2 separate regions of the Homo sapiens genome follow, and region 2 is linked to region 1. The links are contacts of gene promoters, found by promoter capture Hi-C in human tissues and cell types (Jung and others, 2019). All regions are on one chromosome and are shown on one strand. Each heading gives the region's core, a stretch centred on a gene start or on the middle of the fragment in contact. The rest is flanking DNA. Distances are from core to core; before and after follow the strand shown. Region 1 has its middle 34 kb from the start of LAT. Region 2 holds the start of SEZ6L2 (seizure related 6 homolog like 2).

Region 1 (4,168 bases), core at 680-3,179:
AGAAACAATGCAAACATATGAAAAGATGCTCCGCTATTTTTCATAATAAAAGAAATGCAAATTAAGACTATAATAAGACTCTAACCTTGGCTGGGTGTGGTGGCTCACGCCTGTAATACCAGCACTTTGGGAGGCCGAGGCAGGCAGATCACCTGACGTCAGGAGTTCAAGACCAGCCTGGCCAACAGGACAAAACCCCATCTCTACTAAAAATACAAAAATTAGCTGGGTGTGGAGGCACACACCTGTAATCCCAGCTACTTGGGAGGCTGAGGCAGGAGAATTGCTTGAACCCAGGAGATGGAGGTTGCAGCGAGCCGAGATCGTGCCACTGCACTCCAGCCTGGGCGACAGAGCAAGACTCTGTTTAAATAAAAAAAGACTCATCTTTACCTAACAGTTTGGCAAAAGATTAAGGAGTTTGATAGCACTCTGAGCTGGCAAGGGTGTGGGGAAACAGCTACTGTGGGCCACCTCTTGTGGGAGTGTCAACTAATCCCTTCCCCCGAAGGGGAATTTGGCAGTATCTAGCAAAATCACACATGCATATTCACTTTGACCAAACGACTCTTCTTCAAGGGATTCATTATACAGAAGTCCTCCCACGCGGGCTAAATGACTTACACATAAGATTATTCATTGCAGCTTCTGGGGGGTAAACTATTAAAACAATCTAAATGTCCATCATGAGGTAGCTATTTAAAGTCCATCCACACAACAGCATAACCATGCAGCTATTAAAAAAGAATGCACTGGGCCGGGCACGGTGGTCCTGCCTGTAATCCCAGCACTTTGGGAGGCCAAGGCGGGCGGATCACGAGGTCAGGAGTTCGAGACCAACCTGTCCAATATGGTGAAGTCCCGTCTCTACTAAAAAATACAAAAATTAGCTGGGCATGGTGGCACGTGCCTGTCATCCGAGCTACTTGGGAGGCTGAGGCAAGAAAATCTCTTGAACCTGAGAGGTGGAGATTGCAGTGAGCCAAGATCACTGCCACTGCACTCCAGCCTGGGCAACAGAGTGAGACTCCATCTCAAACAATAGAAAAAGAATGCACTGGCCGGGTGTGATGTCTAACACCTGTAATCCCAGCACTTTGGAAGGCTGAGGCAGGAGGATGGCTTGAGCTCAGAGGTTCGAGACCAGCCTGAGAAACATGGTGAGACTCCTGCCTCTACAAAAGATACAAAAATTAGCCGGGCATGGTGGCAGGCGCCTGTAATCCCAGCTACTCAAGAAGCTAAGGTGGGAGGATCACCTGAGCCCGCAGTGGAGGTTGTAGTGGGCCAAGATCGTGCCACTGCACTCCAGCCTGGGCAACAGAGTGAAACGGAGTTCGAGACCAGCCTGGCCAACATAGCAAAACCCCATCTCTACTAAAAATACAAAAATTAGCCGGGTGTGGTGGCAGGCACCTGTAATCCCAGTTACTCAGAAGGCTGAGGCAGGAGAATGGTTTGAACCCGGGAGGCAGAGGTTGCAGTGAGCCAAGATTGTGCCAATGCACTCCAGCCTGGGTGACAGAGCAAGACTCTGTCTCAAAAACAAACAAACAAACAAACAAAAAAAAAACAATGCACAAGGTTGTAAGTTTTAGGGTAATGATGTCAAACCTCCAAGATACGGCATTACACGAAAAAGCAAAATACAAACAGTGCGTGGAATTATACCATTTATATAAAAACGAAGTGGCTGCAAATTTGCTTAAACGTGCATTTGCTTATAGAAGTGTGGAAAATCTTTGGGTAACTGATAAGAATGACTGTGACTTTGGACAGGAATTTGGTGGTTAGGGAACAGGTGGGAGAGAGATTTTTCTGTTAAAATCTTTAGTACCTTTGGAATTTTGAACCACAGGAATATACTGCCTTTTCCTTTTCTTTTTTTTTAGGCTGGTCTCAAACTCCTGGGCTGAAGGTATCCTTCTGCCTTAGCCTACCGAGTAGCTGGGATTACAGAGTACTGCCTATTAAAATATATATATCTATATATATGTGTGTGTGTGTGTGTGTGTGTGTGTGTGTGTGTGTGTGTGTGTAGCTGGGCACAGTGGCTCATGCCTGTAATCCCAGCACTTTGAGAAGTGGAGCCGGGTGGATAACTTGAGGCCAGGAGTTTGAGACCAGCCTGGGTAACATAGCTAGATCTCATCTCTATAAAAAAAAAATTTAAAAATCACCTTGTATCTCATAAATGTAAACAACTATGATTTGTCAATCAAAATAATATTAATTAAAAAATTTTTTAATTCTAACTGATATCACACCAAATTAAAAAAAAAAATTAAAAAGGCCGGGCACATTGGCTCACACCTGTAATCCCAGCACTTTGGGAAGCTGAGGAGGGTGGATCATCTGAGGTCAGGAGTTCTAGAACAGCCTGGCCAACATGGTAAAACTCTGTCTCTACGAAAACTACAAAAGTTAGCCGGGCGTGGTGGCAGGTGCCTTTAATCCCAGATACTCAGGGGGCTGAGGCAGGAGAATCACTTGAACCTGGGAGGCAGAGGTTGCAGCGAGCCGAGATCATGCCATCACACTCCAGCCTGGGGGACAAGAGAGGGACTTTGTGTCAAAAAATAAAAATAAAATAAAATAAATAAATAAATAAATAAATCGTAGGCCAGGTGAGGTGGCTCATGCCTATAACCCCAGCACTTAGGGAGGCCAAGGCTTGTGGATCACTTGAGGTCAGGAGTTTGAGACTAGCCTGGCTAACGTGGTGAAACCCCGTCACTACTAAAAATACAAAAATTAGCCAGGCGTGGTGGCGAGCACCTGTAGTCCCAGGTACTCAGGAGGCTGAGGCAGGAGAATTGCCTGGACCCACCACTGCACTCTAGCCTGGGTGACAGGGTGAGACCCTGTCTCAAAAAATAAAAATTAAGTTTAAAAAATCTTAAGAAGTAAGAAGACTACTTCCTGATTTCAATATGTGTTACAAAGCTACAGTAATCAAAACAATGTGGTACTTGGCATAAAGACAGAGATATAGACTAATGGAATAGAGAGCCCGGAAATACATCCTTACATTTATTATTATTATTATTATTATTATTATTATTATTATTATTATTATTTTTGTTACAAGATCTCACTCTGTTGCCCAGGCTGGCACACAGTGGTATGATTGTAGCTCACTGAAACTTCAAACTCCTGTGATCAAGCTATCCTCCCACCTCAGTCTCCCAAGTACCTGAGACTAGATGTGGGTGTCACCATGTCTGGCTATTTTTTTTTTTTTTTTTGGCAGAGACCTAGTTTCACTACATTGCCCAGGCTGGTCTCAAACTCCTGGCCTCAAAGGATCCTCTCACCTCTGCCTCCCAAAGTGCTGGGATTACAGGCGTGAGGCACCATGCCTGGCCCACCCTCACATTAATGGTTAAATAATCTTTGGCAAGGGTGCCAAGACCATTCAGTGGCAGAAAAAGCAGTATCTTCAACAAATGGTGTTGGGAAAACTGGCTATTCACATACAAATAATGCAGTTAGACCCTTATCATACACCGTACACACACACAAAAAAATTTTTTTGAGACGGAATTTTGCTCTTGTCGCCCAGGCTGGAGTGCGATGGCGCGACCTCGGCTCACCACAACCTCCACCTCCAGGGCTCCAGGATGCTCCTGCCTCAGCCTCCTGAGCAGCTGGGATTACAGGAGCGCACCACCAAGCCTGGCTAATTTTGTATTTTTAGTAGAGACGGGGTTTCTCCATGTTGGTCAGGCCGGTCTCGAACTCCCGACCTCGGTGATCTGCCCGCCTTGGCCTCCCAAAGTACTGAGATTACAGGCATGAGCCACCATGCCTGGCCATATACAAAAATTAATTCAAAATTTAAAGACTTAAATATAAGGCCTAAAACTATAAAACGCCTAGAAAAAAAATATAGGGAAAAAGCTTCATGTCACTGAACTTGACAATGATTTATTAGATATGACACCAAGAAAGGCACAGGCAGCCAGGCACGGTGGCTCATGCCTGTATTCCCAGCACTTTAGGAGCCGAGGTGGGCAGATCACTTGAGGTGAGGAGTTCAAGACCAGCCTGGCCAACATGGCAAAACCCTGTCTGTACTAAAAATACAAAAATTAGCTGAGCGTGGTGGCACATGCCTGTAATCCCACATACTCAGGAGGCTGAGGCAGAAGGATCACTTGAACCC
Region 2 (3,821 bases), core at 736-3,235, 880 kb before region 1:
CCTGGGCGCTGAATACCTAGGACCCCTGGCCCTCTCCCAGGGCCTGGGCCACCCTGAGCTGCCCGCCTCACTCTACCCATCCCAGCCCAGGAGTAGCGCCTTGCGTAGGCCCGAAGCCGCCGGCTCACTAGGCCTTCCGTCCTAGGTCCTTCCCCGGGATCCCCAGGACCCCCTGGGCTTGGCCCGCCGGCCTCCGAGCATCCCACAGGCCCACCACGAACACCCCCAGCTCGGCTCCCAGCCCCTAGGGCCTGCATGTCTTGGGAGCCCAGGCGGTAGCAGTACCAGAGGAACAGGGAAGTGAGGGCCCCGAAGAGCAAGGTGAGGGCCGAGGAGGCCAGGGGTAGTGGCCACGGGAGCATGATCAGGGAGGCCCTGGCCAAGAGGCCTGGGGCGTCCTCCGGACCCCAGTTCCCCTGTCCCCCCAGCTCCCCACCTGTCCCTTCCATGGCTGCCCCCTGGCTCCCCGCTGGACTGTTTCCCTTCCACATTCCACTCTGGGCTGTCTCTCTCTCCTTCCGCGGTCCTCTCTCCACGCTGAAGCTCCCTCTCCCCTCCTTCATGCACCTCCAACCCTCCTCTCTCCTTTCTCTCCCCTTTCTCTCTCCTTCTACCTCTTCTTCCTCCTCTCCCTCTGTCGCCTCCTCACCCTCTTCTTTCTCCTTCCAGCAGCCTCCTCTCTCTCGCTCTGCTTCTCTCTCCCACCTCAATCTCCCCCTTTCCTCCCCACCCCCGCTTTTCGCTCGCTCTCTCTCCCCGCTTCCTCCTAGCTCCCCTGGGCAGCGGTTCCTACCCTGCCTGGACCTGCAGTCCCGGGAACCCGCAGCCTGTCTTCCTCCGCGGCAGCTTCTTTCTCTCCGGCCTCACTGCTCTCTCCTTGCCCTCGCTCCTCACTAGCCCCGACCCTGCGGTCCTGCCTGGCTCTCGCTCCCTCTCTCCTACTCGCTCCTTCCTGGGCTCCCACTCACCCTGACGTCACTCCTTCCCGGAGCCCTCTCAGCTCAGCCACCCCCGAACCCTCCCAGTGGCACAGCAAATCAGCCGGGTGCCGGGGGAGGGGGGAGAGTTGTCGCTGGAGGTGCCTCCCCACCCCCCCCGCCCGGAAAGGGCGCCACGTGGGGCGCAGGGGCCACGGTGCCAGCCTCCAGCCGTCCCGCAATGCGAAAGAAGGGGCGGGTCGTATCGGGCGGGGCCTGAGGGGCGGGGCCTGAGGGGCGGGGCGAGCGCGGACTGACGGCTGGGCAGGCGCCCGGGACTGCGGGCAAGGATGCTGAGGCCAGTCCGTCGGGCGGCTGGTCCGTCGGTCGGTCGGCCTGTGACTCCCGCTGGCCCTAGGCAGCCCGGGAGCCCGCGAGCCTGGCAAACACCGAAAGCGGCCTCAGCCAATCGCGGGCGGCGTCGGGCCGGGCCCGCCCCGGCGGGGCGAGGGGAGCTGTCCGCGCGCCGCTGGTGCTGAAAAGGGCGCTCCGGAGGGAAAATCAGAGCCGAGGCCGCCTGTTAGCTGGCCGGGGTCAGGGTTTATGGAAGAGGAGGGGTCTGTCTCTCCTCCCCAAACCCCGGCCCGTCACCCACGAGACTTGTCACAATCGTGGAAGCTCTCTATTCCCCTGGAGGAGGGAGAGCCCATTCCACCCGAGCTACTGTAAAAGGGGAAGGGAAGCCCCTTGGGAGGTCTGAATGTGAACAGGGGGCATAATTGGGGGCCTAGCAGGCGCGAACCAAGCTATGCAGCCCCTCGGCACCCTGGGAAGAGGAGATTCAGATTCCAGATGTGCTGGAATGGCAGGCGGAGGGGGCTAATTACTGCTGGGACCAGAGAGTTTCCTTTGCCTCCCCTAGGGGCCGCGGGAGTGAGGATTACGGCCCTGGCTCGTATGATCCCTCCCTCCTCCATCTGCACTTCCTCCTCCTCCCTCCCCGTCAAATAAATCCCAGGCCCCTCCCTCCGCCCGTCCCCAGGATCTGACGTGGGCTCGATACCTTTCTCAGCTTCTCCCTCCCGCAGCTCCAGTGCCCGAGCTTCGGCTCTCCCAGTTCCCCAACCCACCCCTTCCCCTCCCCGACAAGCCCCGCTAGAGCCCAGTGGAGACCCCCTCGATCCTCGACCCCACCCTAAACCCCCAGAAGCTGTCTTTCTCCTCCCCAGTCCCCTAGCTTGGGGTCCAGACAGCCCAGTGGACCCAGGCGCCTGAGCAGGAGGGTAACCCAGGCCACCCGGCCCCTTCGGCCCTCTCGGCCCCACCCCCTGCAGCCGGAGCCGCGCCCCCTCCACCACAGAGCCGCGAGAAGAGGACAGAGGAGACTGAGCAAAGGGGGGTGGGCTCCAGGCGACCCCTAGCCCAATTCTGCCCCTCCATCCCAAGGGGCAGAGAAATTGTCTTTCTTTGCTGACTCCTACGAGGAAAAAAAAAAAAAAAAAAAAAACAATTAAAGGGAAAGATAAACGGAGACGGAGGAAAGGTGGCAGCCAGATTACTTAGAGAGGCACAGAGGAGAGAGATCGGGGTGAGTCGCCATGGGGACTCCCAGGGCCCAGCACCCGCCGCCTCCCCAGCTGCTGTTCCTAATTCTGCTGAGCTGTCCCTGGATCCAGGGTAAGGACATGAGACTGTGGGGGTGGGCCCCAGGAAGGCGTCCAGCGGGGTCCTCCACCCTCCTTTCTCTTAATATCCTGGGTCTTCCGAGCACATGGGGGAGGGGAGAGGCACAGCTGATGGGGAAGGGGCAAGCCAGAGCTTTCAGGCTTGAACCCGAAGCCCCTTAACCCTCAATATTGAGAAGGCAGAGAAATGAATGAGAGAAGCTTTTAGCAGTGTCTCAGGGGCTAGATCCAAGAAGGAGGGCTGGGAAAGTTGGGGGGATGTCTGCGGAGGCGGCAGAAGCATGGAGGGACCTGGGTGGGAGATGGAGGTGCTGAGAGAGATGCCAGGCGCTGTACACACAACTGTTCTTGGATGAATGGACAAAGACAGATGAGCAGAGGCAGGGCTCAAAGACCAGATTTTCAGTCCCCCACTCTGACCCCCAGCCAGACTCCAGGGAAGGAGGCAGAGACTGCAGAGGACCAGAGAGAGAGAGGGTGGGGGGGAGAGAGAGAGAGAGAGAGAGAGAAAAGACAGCCACACTGCAGAGACAGAAACCCAGAGAGAAAGCCAGGCACTGCGGAAGCAAGGGCTGGGAGGTGCGGCCAGATCCTCTGCAGAGCCCCAGGGTTGGGGGGAGATCACCACTGAGGTGAAAGGGAAGGCAGCACCGGCGACCCCTCTGCCTTGCTGGCGCTGTCCAGGGTCCATAAGAGCTAAGGTGTTCAATGAAGGCCCACACAGCCCAGGGAGAAGGGAGAGGGGAGGGGAGAGAAGAGGTGTGGGAGTGGGAGTATGAGGGCAGCTGGGAGCCCCTCCTCCGATCTTGGCCCTCAGTCGAGCCTGGGACCATCTGAGCCCCTGCAGGCCCAGCTGATGGAGGAGGGAGGAAGAGTTCTAGAAAATATCTCTCTGGAGAAGGAAGGGGTGTGGGGAAGTGGAGAAGCTCACACAACTTCACCTCCTAGGTCTGCCCCTGAAGGAGGAGGAGATATTGCCAGAGCCTGGAAGTGAGACCCCCACGGTGGCCTCTGAGGCCCTGGCTGAACTGCTTCATGGGGCCCTGCTGAGGAGGGGCCCAGAGATGGGCTACCTGCCAGGTGAGGCCCCCAGAGTGGCAGGAGTGGCCTAGAGGCAGAGGGAGGGATATGGGCTCAGGGAGATGGGGAGCCAGGCTAGAGAAGAGCAGGCAGAGAGAGACTGCAGAGGAAAGAGCCTGCATTCCTGTGAGATTCAGGG

What was found. Contacts are between HindIII fragments. The study calls those that stand out against the background at their distance.
Region 2: the fragment with the promoter of SEZ6L2 here is called in contact with a fragment that was not itself captured in region 1 in 1 of the 25 tissues and cell types used here (lymphoblastoid cells).

Annotation. Positions count from the first base shown.
Region 1 is chr16:29,017,288-29,021,455 of GRCh38, reverse strand. No RefSeq gene overlaps it. Among named protein-coding and RNA genes, the nearest start is that of LAT, 34 kb to the right of the region's middle. The HindIII fragment of the contact is 6,519 bases long and covers 1-4,168 here.
Region 2 is chr16:29,897,714-29,901,534 of GRCh38, reverse strand. It overlaps SEZ6L2 (seizure related 6 homolog like 2), which reads left to right and starts at 1,985. Exons shown (of 18, transcript NM_001243332.2): 1 at 1,985-2,594; 2 at 3,551-3,682. The coding sequence starts at 2,516. It overlaps ASPHD1 (aspartate beta-hydroxylase domain containing 1), which reads right to left and starts at 1,047. Exons shown (of 3, transcript NM_181718.4): 1 at 1-1,047. The coding sequence starts at 563. RefSeq lists enhancers at 1-26, 1,793-2,087 and a silencer at 1,000-1,429. The HindIII fragment of the contact is 10,220 bases long and covers 1-3,821 here.